Regions from separate parts of the Homo sapiens genome. Here region 1 is linked to region 2. The links are contacts of gene promoters, found by promoter capture Hi-C in human tissues and cell types (Jung and others, 2019). All regions are on one chromosome and are shown on one strand. Each heading gives the region's core, a stretch centred on a gene start or on the middle of the fragment in contact. The rest is flanking DNA. Distances are from core to core; before and after follow the strand shown. Region 1 overlaps FAM114A1 (family with sequence similarity 114 member A1). Region 2 holds the start of TMEM156 (transmembrane protein 156).

The links. Contacts are between HindIII fragments. The study calls those that stand out against the background at their distance.
Region 1: a contact is called between a fragment that was not itself captured here and the fragment with the promoter of TMEM156 in region 2, in 1 of the 25 tissues and cell types used here (H1 embryonic stem cells).

Annotation. Positions count from the first base shown.
Region 1 is chr4:38,891,385-38,897,921 of GRCh38, reverse strand. It overlaps FAM114A1 (family with sequence similarity 114 member A1), which reads right to left. Exons shown (of 15, transcript NM_138389.4): 4 at 6,092-6,179. Among named protein-coding and RNA genes, the nearest start is that of MIR574, 27 kb to the right of the region's middle. The HindIII fragment of the contact is 3,916 bases long and covers 1-3,425 here.
Region 2 is chr4:39,030,390-39,037,251 of GRCh38, reverse strand. TMEM156 (transmembrane protein 156) reads left to right here and starts at 4,843. Exons shown (of 7, transcript NM_024943.3): 1 at 4,843-5,026. The coding sequence starts at 4,939. RefSeq lists an enhancer at 1-325. The HindIII fragment of the contact is 30,825 bases long and covers 1,039-6,862 here.

The sequences.
Region 1 (6,537 bases), core at 218-2,717, 140 kb after region 2:
CAGGCTGGAGTGCAGTGGTGCAATCTTGGCTCACTGCAACCTCCATCTCCCAGGCTCAAGCGATTCTTCTGTCGCAGCCTCCAAGCAGCTGGTACTACAGGGGCATGTCACCACACTCAGCTAATTTTTGTATTTTTTTTTTTTAGTAGAGATGGGGTTTTGCCATGTTGGCCAGGCTGGTCTTGAACTCCTGACCTCAAGTTGATTTACCTGCCTCAGCCTCCCCAAAAACCCTCTTTTCTAAAATGTTTTCTATTCTTGTGTCTGCCTGGAAATAATAACCAAGCTTACTTCATTTCACAAACTTGTCCAAAGGCATGGGTGACAGGTGATCAAATCTTCTAAGAATGTGATGACAGTGTAGCTGTAGTTGAGCCTAATGCAAGAGTTAAGTCCTCTCCAAAATAATTGTTGGCTGAAAAATGTTTGATTTTGTATAAGCATTAGGAAGGTCACTTTTTCTCATTTTCCCTTAACCTCAGAGTGAAAGAGTATTGAGGCAAAAGATAAAATATAAAAATAGAGTAGACATAATTTCAATTAATTTTCTGTATTTTTCCACTTAGCACAGTGGGCACAAATATCTTTCTCCTTCTATGCATAGACACAGGATATGGTATCAACATATTCTGGAAGTTGGAAGAGACCTTAGAATTTCTCCAGTTTTTTCACCCACGTTTTTCCATACAAAGAACCTGAGTCTTAGGTTAAGGGCACAGTGTAGCTAGTTAGTAACAGTGCCTTGTGATCACAAGTTAGCAGCATTCAGGACCAGGTCTCAGGTCTTATGACTCATGGTACAGTGCTCATTCCAAGAGATTACCATTTTTCAATTGTTTCTATTCTCCTGTTATTCTCCTGCCAACTCTCAACAGTTCTAACTATTCTAACTGCAGTTTTTCAACAACTGTTAGAGGTAATGGTTTCCATTTCTAGTGCTCAATTGACAGCTCTGTGTTTTGTTAATGTCTATATGTTTTGCACCCCTGTCTGCAGCTGGAATTACCCTGGGGGTATACATGAGGTTTCTGAGTAGACATCAATTGCAATTGAACATGTGGTTATTTTCTTTCCTTACTTTCCACAGGCAATTTATAAATCTTCAAAGCTTGTCTACTACTGTGAATGATCTGTTTTCCAATAAGTTTCTTTGCCTGATGATAATAAACTGCTAATGCTGTAAAGCCCTGGGGTTGACACTATGCCTGTACATAGCAGAAATTGTGCCTCGCTTGCCTCTCTCAATCCCAAGATAGTGGCTCAACATAGACCACAGATCAGGAAGGCACACATAACTTTAAATTCTCTGTTCACAGATCTTTGAGCCCCATTCCAACCTGTTTCAGGCTGTGAGCCTGGCTCCATGTGTGGGCAACTTATGATCCCTCTTACCTTTCAGCAGTCAAACTCCCAACCACCAGTGCTTGTTTCCAGCCTGGGAACCCATGACTTCAGCCTCCTGTTAGGCTACATGCTTTAGTTCTGTACAGGTCTACAAAGACACTTGTCCAATTTTGAAATATACATTGCTTTTGTTTTAACTACTATTACTACATAAAGTCACAGCATGTCCTCATCAGAAATCTCCAAAATATGCAGTAAGAGCAATTTAGGCAGGGTTTTCAGTTATACTTCTATTGCATTCATTTTGGGGGGAGGAGGTGGGTAGTGATGATCAGTGGTGATGAACAATTTTAGTACCTGCTTTTCTAAAGACAGCTCTAAAATTTCTCCAAAGGGACTTTTAGAATGAGCATCAATATTTCAAAATTTTAATGACTTTCCTCATGTACCCTTTGCCATTTTGTATGCAAACAAGAGAAAAATGCCAAGATTTCCTTGCTTTTCAAAATTCCAGCATGTAGCCAGAACCATAGAAAATACTAAGGTTCTGTAATTGGTGGTGTAACTGACAAAGATCTCAAACAGAGACGAGAAGAGAATTAAGGTAGGCGGGATGCACCACATGACAAACTTACGGTCAACGACGGGCCACATCTATGACAGTGGTCCCATAAGATCATAATACTGTATTTTTCCTGTGCCTTTTCTATGTTTAGATGTGTGAAATACACAAATACTTATTATTGTGTTACAATTGCCTACAGTATTCAGTACAGTAATAAGCTGTCCTATGTTTGCAGCCTCGGCGCAATAGGCTTTACCACATAGCCTAGCTGTGTAGGTCTGTGTATACTTTGGAGGTTTGCACAATGATTAAATCACCCAACGACCCATTTCTCAGAAGGTATTCCCATTGTTAAGTGAAGCATGACCGTATTGAGAGACGGCCCCAAGATTCTTGTCCCCAGATGTATACACCCTATGTGATCCCTTCCCTTTGGAGTGTGAGCCGGAGTGTAAACAGGATGGGATTTCACCCCTGTGATTAGGTTACTCTATCCAGCAATGATGGGGAGAATTTTCACATGTAATTAAGGTCCTTGATCAGTTGAATTTCAGTGACTCAAAAGAGAGATCATCCTTAGTGCGCCTGAACTAATCAGGAGCGTCTTTAAAACAAAGGGGCCCTTCCTGAAGGTAGCGATTTGAAGCATGAGAGAGATTTTCCTGCTGGCTTTGAAGGAGGACCTGAGGGCAGCCTCTAAGAGCTGAAAGTGAGCCCTGGTCAATAATCAGCAGGAAAACAGGGACCTCAGTCCTACAACTTCAAAATCTGAATTCTGCCAACAACGTGAATGACCCTGAAAGATGACGTCTTCAAAGCAGAGGTGCCAGCTGAGCAGCTGGCAGAGCCACTGGCCTCATCTTCGACTCTGGGCCCCCTTCTAGCTGCACCACCCTATCCTCCAGAGACTTTAAAGTTATGGGTGCCTTCCTGATCTGTGGTCTATGTTGAGCCATTATCTTGGGATTGAGAGAGGCAAGCGAGGAACAACTTCCATTATGTACAAGCATAGTGTCAACCCCAGGGCCATGCTGCCTCAGGTAAAAGTGAGCCTCAGATGAGAATACAGCTGGCTGCCACCCTGATTTTAGCCTGTTAAGCTCACATTATTTTACATGAGCAGCTGTCCCATACCTGAACTCTTGACCCACGGAAACTGTAAAATAATGAATGCATGTTGTTTTCAGCCTCTTTAACTGTGGTAATTCCTTACATAGCAACAGAAACTAATACAAGAGGGTATACTGAACTTCATTCTGATATTGCATGAGGAATGTGCAAATGTCATACACTCTCAGAGAAACCACGTGTTTACTCACCCTAGAAGAAAAGTGGCAAGTTTTTCCATCCACGGACTGACAGCTCGCCCATTGAATTTACTATCCAGCATCTTCTTAGGTGTCCTTTTGTAATCTGATCTTTGCATACGTGCAGATTTGGTTCCAGTGGACTGTGCTCCAAGGCCTCTAGGTTTTGTTACTTGGTTCAAATATAACCAGTAGATGGTGCTGACATTACTACTTAAAAAGCGGGATATTATTTTTCATGGCACAGTGACCATGTGACTGGCACAATGCTCATGATGGCCTACAGGAATTTACCTCTCTAGGCTCTTCTGGATCAATGATTACTCAGAGCCAGATGCGAACCATCACAATTTATAAATTGTTGTGAGAGTAACAAGATGCAGTATTTATTATCTGCATGGTGGCTCAGACACAGAGAAACTTTAAGAGCAACCCCAAACACAAGCACAGGCCGCAGATTAAGACAATGACGTCGGATCAAGTCAAAAGGGACCTGCTGTGAAAAATCACACCCTGCTTTTTTTTTTTTTTTTTTTTTTTTTTGAGACATACTCTCATTCTATTGCCCAGGCTGGAGTGCAGGGGCGTAATCTCTGTTCACTGCAACCTCCACCTCCTGGGTTCAAGCAATTCTCCTGTCTCAGCCTCCCATGTAGCTGGGACTACAGGCACCCACCACCACGTCCAGCTAATTTTTGTATTTTTAGTAGAGATGGGTTTTCACCATGTTGGCCAGGCTGGTCTTGAACTCCTGACCTCAAATGATCCATCCACCTCGGCCTCCCAAAGTGCCGGGATTACAGGCGTGAGCCACCATGCCTGGCCACATCCCACTTTTTAAGCAGTAAAGTCAGCGCCATCTACTGGTTACATGTGAACCAGGTGACAAAACCCGGAGGCCTTGGAGCACCATCCACTGGAACCAAAGCTGCATGTGTGCAAAGGTCAGATTATAGCAAGACACCTAAGAAGGTGCTGGATAGTAAATTCAATGGGAGAGCTGTCAGTTCATGGACAGAAAACCTTGGGAGGGTCCAACAAAGCCCAAAGTCAAATGAGGTACAGACACTGAATGAGAAACAACAGCAAATGGTCTGACCAACCAGGGCTAGAGCAGTTACAGGGAGATGCACCTTTAAGTGTGCACAGAGAGCACCTATAGCTGCTACCACAGAGCAGATGATTTCTGTGTTTACTGTGGCAGGAACTTATATTTAAAAGTTTAATGAAAGAGTAAGTCCTCCATCTATACTAGAACCCTCGAACCACCAATTCATTATAAACCAGAGTGGTTTGGATGCGGTTAAAACTGGAAACATCCAGGACACATGACTGTTTTATGATATAAACCACGAGAAGAGCTGTATAATTTTAGTGACCATATTATTTACTTTTTCATGACTTATTCCAATTAAAACAATCTTTTAGAACCTCCTTTTTAGTTTTTGGCTTAGAAAGCATGTCACTTCTAAGTGCCACCAGTGGCAAGATCCTTTTGATAGCCACTAAGTTCAAACATTTTTCCAAGGACAGAGGATGCCTGCAGGTGCTTGTCCTCACCCTTGTGAAGAGATAGCATCCTGTTCAGAAAACAAAACAGGCGCCTCTACTTGAATTTAGTTAAATTTGTCATCTGCATATGTGGTACTCAAGGCATAGCCATCCCCTTAATAAGCAATAGAGAAAATCTGCTCTCCAGGCTTACCAGAGAGGTCAACATTTATTTGGCCATTGCTACTTCTTCCCAGAGCCTTCCTGAGCAAACTGATATTTGACAGAGATGGAATTAGAGGAATGCAATCTATCCATTCTTCCAGGCAGCCTAAGCTCTGTCAAGTTAGATATCTGGCCCTTAACACTGTGGTCATGGTCCACTGGGGTGGGGCAAAAGGCCTGAAGACCTTCCTGGTTTTAGGAGTAACAGTGAAGTGGACCAATTCATGGCCTATCGCAAGGTCCTCATGGCCATGGACTGCACCTTAGAATACCTGAAGTGGATGATGTGAAAACTCTGTTACCTGTGGCTTCCCCTATCTTCTTATCTTCCACCTTCAAGATGAAATGCCTTTGCTAAATTATCTTAGACATATTGATGTTATACCTTCAGTTCTCATGAAGAGAGAATATAAGAAATGGTAACATGAAGAATATCATGACAAATTTGCACTCAGGAAGACACTACACTGTCCATCATATTTTCTCTTTGTATAAGAACAAATACAGGAAATTTCTTTAAAAATTTAAAACCAGAAAAATATATTTATTTAAATTAAAATTTTGTTTTCAAAGAGAAATAAATAATGTACTGGCAGCCAAGAAGCTCAGAGTTGAGGTCAATACTCAATTACAAAAACTCTATTAGCCATGGGATGTATAAAATATGTATCCTCCCTACCAGCACATTGTTTTCTCCTTATATTGTAATATCCTGCTAATGAAATGCCTTTTATCAAGATATCTCAAATCCTTTTTGGGAGTAGATGCGTTGTGCACTAAAAAAATTCAAGTGGGACGATAAACACGAAGCTTTAAGAATATATTATACTTTAAAAGACCATATAATATAGTGGCTAAAAGCCATACTACTTGGCTTTTAAATTGCAACCCAGACATTCCTGACTTTGGTCAAGGTCTTAGTCTCTCTCTGATTAGCTTCCTTACCTGTAAAGTGCAGCAAACAACAGTTCCTCCATATAGGGTTATTTTGAGGAACAAATGTATTGGAGGAATAAATGAAGCACTTAGAATAGTAAGCACTAAACATGGTTTGCTCACGGGCTAATGTTAAACTCTATTAGTATACAGTACGATCAAAACGTCCTATCCTATTAGGCTTTGGTACTTTGTCTATTCCAATGCAACATACAATGCTTACCTACTGTGGCAGATGCTGACGACAGCAGAGATTTGCCCCAGGATCCCCAGCCTGCCCATCCTCCTCCACTTGGAGGGGAATCCACAGCCTGGAGAAAAACAAATTAGCCACAGGTCAGAAATTCAGTATATCTCTGAATGGAAAAACACCTATTGGTTTGAAACAAAGAGGAGGTTTGGAAAAGAATCACCAACAACCGTATCTAATTGGCTTATAGTTTATAAGGGTCATAAAAGAATATCCCAAACCACACTGCAATGTGTACTTTGGAACCAAATTGATTAGTGCTGATGTTGGCTTCTGAAGGCTTGGTTTGAAGTGAGAAGGGAGTTTGATGTTAACTGAGCCTCGATTCTCTCTTATTATTTAGAAGACAGGGAAAAGGCTGCATGGGAAAAAGATACGCATGAGGGCACAAGAGGGATTTGAAAAAGTTCAAAATGATC
Region 2 (6,862 bases), core at 3,594-6,093:
GCACGCCTGTAATCCCAGCTACTCCGGAGGCTGAGGCAGGAGAATCACCTGAACCTGGAAGGCGGAGGTTGCAGGGAGCTGAGATCACGCTCACTGCAACAAGAGCGAAACTCCATCTCAAAAAAAACAAAATAATAATGATAAAAAAGAAATGCACTGAGTGAACAAAGATAAGGCAGCTCAGTGACCCGCAGCCTGGGGTCTGAGCAGTGCTGAGCACCTTTTCCGGTTCTCTGAGGGGCTGACTCAACCTGGCTGTTGAAGGGGTGACCTCCTGTGTGCACTCATGTCATGGAGTTCTTTGCCGCAACCTTGCCACAGCCACTGAAGGTACCACTGCTGTCTCCTGTTGGCCTGCTCAGAGGTTCTCTCTAGATTTCTGCTCTATTAAGTTCAAGCTCCAGCCCAGGGGAGAGCCGCCAGCCTCAGAGACACCACAGCCCCTTTCTTAATTATCTGTTTCTAAAATAGCAAACAGGCTGTGTGAGTGGAGAGAGACAGAATTATGTTTATTAAATTATAATTTATATACAGTAAATGATGTACATCTTTTTCAGGGTACAGGTCTAGAATTTTGACTAACACACAGTTGTATAATCACCACCATAATCAAGATATAGAACATTTCCATCACCCTAAAAATTCCCTTATGTCCCTTTGTCATTAACCCCTCCCTCTGTCTCCAGCCTCTGGCAACCACTGATCTATTTTCTGTCTCTGTGGTTTTGCCTTTTCCCAAGTGTTGTATTAATGACAAGGCCTTCATTAACATCCTTATTTAAACCAACATGTGCCCTGCCCAACTTTCTGCTGGCACATCTCACCCTCATACTTTGCCCGATTTTTTTTTCAGGACACCCACAATAACTGAAAATAAATTATTATTTACTTAATTACTCTCTCTCATTGGAATGTACGCTCTCACTAGAATGTGAGCGTGAGAACCTTGCGTGCTTGCTGCTAGATCTCCAGCGTTCAGGACGCTGCCTAGTGTCTTGTTAGTGTTGGGTAAATATTTTTTGAATGGACCACAAAATGAATGAGGATACTGGAATTTCCGGGGACCCTCTCCATACTCAGGTAGACCTTGTTAAAAAGAGATTATTTTTCCCCACAAAAATGTGTTAATCTAAGAATTGCTGTGTTGCCAAAGTAGATGATTATCTGCCAGTAACACAATTAGGGGTAATTAGGGGCCAAGAGCGGTGGCTCACGCCTGTAATCCCAGCATTTTGGGAGGCTGAGTGGATCACTTGCGCCTAGGAGCTTGAGACCAGCCTGGCCAACATGGCGAAACCCCTTCTCTAAAATACAAATACAAATACAAAATAAATACAAAATAAAAAATACAAAAATTAGCTGGGCCTGGTGATGTGTGCCTGTAGTCTCAGCTACTCAGGAAGCCGAGTTGGGAGGATTGCTTGAGCCCAGGAGGTTGAGGCTGCAGTGAGCCTTGCTTGTGCCACTGCACTCCAGCCTGGGCAAAAGAGCGAGACCCTGTCTCAAAAATAAAAAAAAGAAAAGAAAGATAAGTAGTTAGGCTGATCCAGGTTATGGATTGTCTTTTAAGTTTACTTTCTGGCTGATTAGGTTACCTAGAATAGAACTGGCCTGAAGTGACTAACATGGAAATAATGATAGTAACTATTTCATAAGGTGGTTACAACAATTAAATGTTACAAATTAGGTTCAGTGTTTACTGCTCAGATGATGGGTGCACCAAAATTTCACAAATCACCACTAAAGAACTTACTCATATAACCTGTTCCCCAAAAATCTATGGAAATAAAAAAAAATTTTTTAAATGATCTAATATAAGTGAAGCGTTTCATGCAGTGGTTCTCAGCTGGGAGCTGTTTTGTCACCCCAGGGACATCTGACAATATCTGGAAACATTTTTTTTCTTTTGTTTGTCAAAACTGGGGCGGGGAGGCCAGGTGTGGTGTTCATGCCTATAATCTCAGCGCTTTGGGAGGTTGAGGTGGGATGATTGCTTGAGGCCAGGGGTTTGAGACCAGCCTGGGTAATATAGTGAGGCCCCATCTCTACAAAAATTTAAAATTAGCCAAGCCCGGTGGCACATGCTTATCGTCCCAACTATTCAGGAGGCTGAGGTGGGAGGATTGCTTGGGCCTGGGAGTTCGAGGCTACAGTGAGCCGTGATCATGCCAGTGCACTCCAGCATAAGTGATAGAGACCCTGTCTTTTAATTTTGTTTTTTTTAATTAAAAAAATAAAAACTGGGGTGGAGAGGGCTGCTACTGGAACCAGCTGTTGAACATCCTACAATGTACAGGATATCCCGCACAACACAGAATGACCTGTCCCAAAATATCAATAGTGCCACCAGTGAGAAACCCTGGGTTAGTGCAGCATCAGGCACATAGTAAAAACTGTATTGGTGTTTGCTATGATTATTATTTTATAAGTGGCCCTTCTTGACAAATGTTCCCACACAGTCTGACAGTGGAGGTATAATGGAGTGTTGGGTTGAGAGTTAGGTTTGACACCTAGCTTCACCCTTTATTAACTATGTGACTTTTGAGCCCTTACTTGACTTCGCTATACCCCATATTCTTTGTCTATCCAATTGGAATAACAGCAACTCCCTGAGAGAGTTGCTGGGGAATTGGATAAAATAATTCATACAAAACATTCAACACTGCAGTAGCACATAGTAAATGTTCAGTAAATGCCATCGATTGTTGCTGCTGCTGTTGATCCAATAAAGACCTTTCCACAGAATATAGTGAAGGGATAGAGGACAGTTTCAACTAGGAAAAAAAATTACTCATATAAAGTATATAAAAGCGTATATTTCGTATATTAATAAATATGTAGAAGTTAAATTTAAACTATCCTTTTTAAGGCTGCTATTTATAATTTTCTAAAAAGTATATTGCTTTTGCTTTCCTAGGGTAGAGCACCTCCTTGATATAAAAGATCCTCTCAATTTTAAACATTTGTATCTAACACAGAATGCATAATTATTTAATTAAGACGTTTGGTCTTGATTAGAAATAGAAACACATTAAAGTATTTTTGAGAACCTGGATCTCAGATATGAAATATAAGACTTAGGAAAGTTAAACACTAGCGTAGTAGCAACAACCTCTTGTGTTTGAGATTCGTTAATCTCTTATTCCTTCATTGAAATAGGAAGGAGAAGCTTGCAGTGGGTAAGTAATTGCAGATTTGTAGCCATTTCTAGCAGTTCCTAGAATCCCCTTTATAATCTAATATTTGTGTTTTTAAAAAATAATCTAATATTTGTAAAAGTGCTTTGGAAATTGTAAAACAAAACTATGGAGATGTGGGCCATTAGTATTATCATCAACCCTAACAGGATGTTAGAGAGTCAGATGTTGCCACTTCAAGGGAGATGACCGAGTTTTGGTGCATTTCAGGAAGCCAAAATCAGGCTGCAAGTAAACTTTGTATTTAAGAATAAATGAGACCGGGCTTGGTGGCTCACGCCTGTAACTGCAGCACTTTGGGAGGCTGAGGTGGGCAGATCACGAGGTCAATAGATCGAGACCATCCTGGCTAACATGGTGAAACCCCGTCTCTACTAAAAATACAAAACATTAGCTGGGCGTGGTGGTGCATGCCTGTAGTCTCAGCTACTCAGGAGGCTGAGGCAGGAGGATCACTTGGATCTGGGAGGCAGAGGTTGCAGTGAGCCAAGATTGCACCACTGCACTCCAGCCTGGAGACAGATTGAGACTCCGTTTCAAAAAACAAAAAACAAAAACAAAAGAATAAATGATTAAATTGATAAACTATACATTATTTCGTGTAATATTAGAAATACAATGAAGAACTGTGTTTCTCTGCATAAAACTTTTAGGTACGTGTTTTATACTCTGTTACAAAATAGTTGGGTGGAAAAACTCCCACCATATACAAAATGAAAAGGCAAATGACAACCTGGGAAAAATGTTTGCAAAACATATGCAAAGATTTCATATTCCCAATAGAGAAAAAAGTCTTATAGATCAACAGGAAGGATATAAATGCTGCAATAAAAGACATGAACATGCAATTAACAAAAGAAATTCAAATTGCCAGCAAATATTAAAAATCTTTAGAATTACTGTCAACCAAACAAATGCAAATTAAACAATACTTTTTTTTCCTTTTAAATTGGCAATGGTTAAAATGTTTCTATCTTCTAGATGTACTATTTTCTGAACACCAGAATTCAGCACAGCACCTGGCACCAAACAGGATCGACAATCATTTAATAAGTAAATGAATGAGTCATGTGCATGCAACCTAGACATGACTGACATTCACCCTTTTATTTCTTTCTCTCTTGAGAAGGGATCTCACTCTGTCACCCAGGCTGGAGTGCAGTGGCCTGTCATGGCTCACTGCAGTCTCAAATTTCTGGGTTCAAGTGATCCTCAGCTTCCTGAGTAGCTGGGACTACAGGAGTGCACCACCACACCTAGCTATATTAAAATTATTTTTGTAGAGAGGAGGGCTTGCTCTATTGACCAGTCTGGACTCAAACTCCTGAACTCAAGTGATCCTTCTGCCTTGGCCTCCCAAAGTGCTGGGATTACAGATGTGAGCCACTTCGCCCAGCCCACCGTTTTATTTTTGTGAGTATACTGTGGGTTTATATTTATAAATTGGGTGGGGAGAAGATCCCCTTGCTTCTTGAGATCATTTATTTACCTTTCTTGCTTAGAAAGACAAATAAATGGTCTGAAAGTGCTTATTTGGGGGGTAGTTTTTTTTTTTAATGGGAAGTGACTCAAAAGTGAAGTCTCAGTTCAAGACCTTTTTTTTTTTTTAAGTCTTACTCAAAAGGAAGTGAGTATGAGGTGAACTGCATTAACCTAAAGTGCTGCAGAGATAAACTTAAAGCAGGAAGCAACATACCATGAATGTACTGCAAGGGAACACATTTGTGTCATGTGAAGAGACATGACAAAAACAGCCCTCCTTAAATTATTTGTGGCAATAGTGATCACATTCATTTTAATTTTGCCGGAATATTTCAAGACACCGAAAGGTGAGTATATAATTGTAATCTAGCTTTCCTTTCTTAATTTAAAAAAATTAGTGTCAGCTAGTGGTTACAGAAAAGATCCTCTTTTTGGACACATGCTGCATAGGCTGAAGTTCTAGATCTGAAAAACTAATAAAACAAGATTGCAATTTTAGTTGACTGTTATATAGTACAGTAACCTAATTCATAGTACTTAATTATCATAGCATACCTAAAAATGAAAATATTTAAAATCTGTAGTCTAGATTTCAGACATTGAGATTACAATAATTGCATCATGATTTTGCTCTTTGAAACACTTTCTTCAAAGCAGTTTTTTTTTATTTTTTTATTTTTTATTTTTTTTTTTTGAGATGGAGTCTCTGTCGCTCAGGCTGGAGTGCAATGGCCTAATCTTGGCTCACTGCAACCTCTGCCTGCCGGATTCAAGCAATTCTCCTGCCTCAGCCTCCGAGTAGCTGGGATTACAGGCGCCCACCACCATGCCTGGCTAATTTTTGTATTTTTAGTAGAGACACGGTTTCACCATGTTGGCCAAACTGGTCTTGAACTCCTGACCTTGTGATCCACCCACCTCGGCCTCCCAAAATGCTGAGATTACAGGCTTGTGCCACTGTGCCTGGCCCAAAGCAGCTTTAAGTATGCTTTTTACATTTTGGAATTCTTTAATGAAGAAAGTGATATTTATTGTGTTAAAAATGCTAGAATTCCCTTTACTACAACTATTTCACACAGATAACTTACCGTCACCTTTTGACAAGAAAAAGCGTTTATATATTTTGAAAATACAATCAAAATAAGGTGAGTGGAAATTTAAACAGATGTATGTGTATGTATTTGTAACTGGAGAAAAATGGAACAAAATTAACTTTGTGAACGTTTCAGAAAATTGTGATATAATTGCTGAAACCTAGATTAGGAAAATAAATAGGTATAAATTTAAACTATTTTGATGTTAGCAAAGGACTTGAAAATTTATTAATGTGAGGTTCAAATGGTAATTGTGCTCCCTAGCATTTAATAAGAAGAAAAGGTGAAAAGAAAAGGCTGTATTCTATCATTAAATAGTCTTTATATGAATTTGATTAAAATCAGAGAAAAACTCATATTTGATTATTTGCTGCAATGAATATTTATTGTTGCATATATGTAATGCTAAATAGCCAGATAAAAATATTTTTGCTAATTATATTTGATGACATATTTCAGTGATTATTTGATGTTGCATTTACATGATGCTAAGTAGCGAGTTAAAAATATTTTTGCTAAATAAACACTATGACTACAATTTGGTTTTCTGGCATTATGTTACTTAGATGAAGCAATCATAGCACATATTTTCAGTGCTTGATTCCACTGGGTGAAAATGTGTTATAAAGAGAATAGTTAGAATAAAGATAATCTATTTTTAAGATATTGTGGGCTGAGAGTAAGCTCATTTAATAGTTATCCGGAGTAGGTTCTATCTATATATCTATCTAGCTAGCTAGCTAGCTATCGATCTACACCTAGCACCTCTTAAAAATCAGGTTGGATCTAATAAAAACCAGGTAATCATCCCAAAAATGACTTAATTAACTATTGGTTAGTATTTTATGAGAACTGGTGACTACAGGAGCATGTTAAAGGTTTTCATTTTGGGGCAGACATGTAGTTCTTTTAGTTTTTGTTTCTCAAAGTGAGAAGCATGGCCTTCTGGGGCAGTGGTGAGCAGAAAGAAGATAGATGAAGCACAGAGAAATTCTTAGTGGGGGACAGATGGGAGCCCCTTCTATTGGTAGGTAGAAGAAAGAGCTCTTATAAAATCCATCTTAGCCAAACTTCCTTGGCCTAATAGTA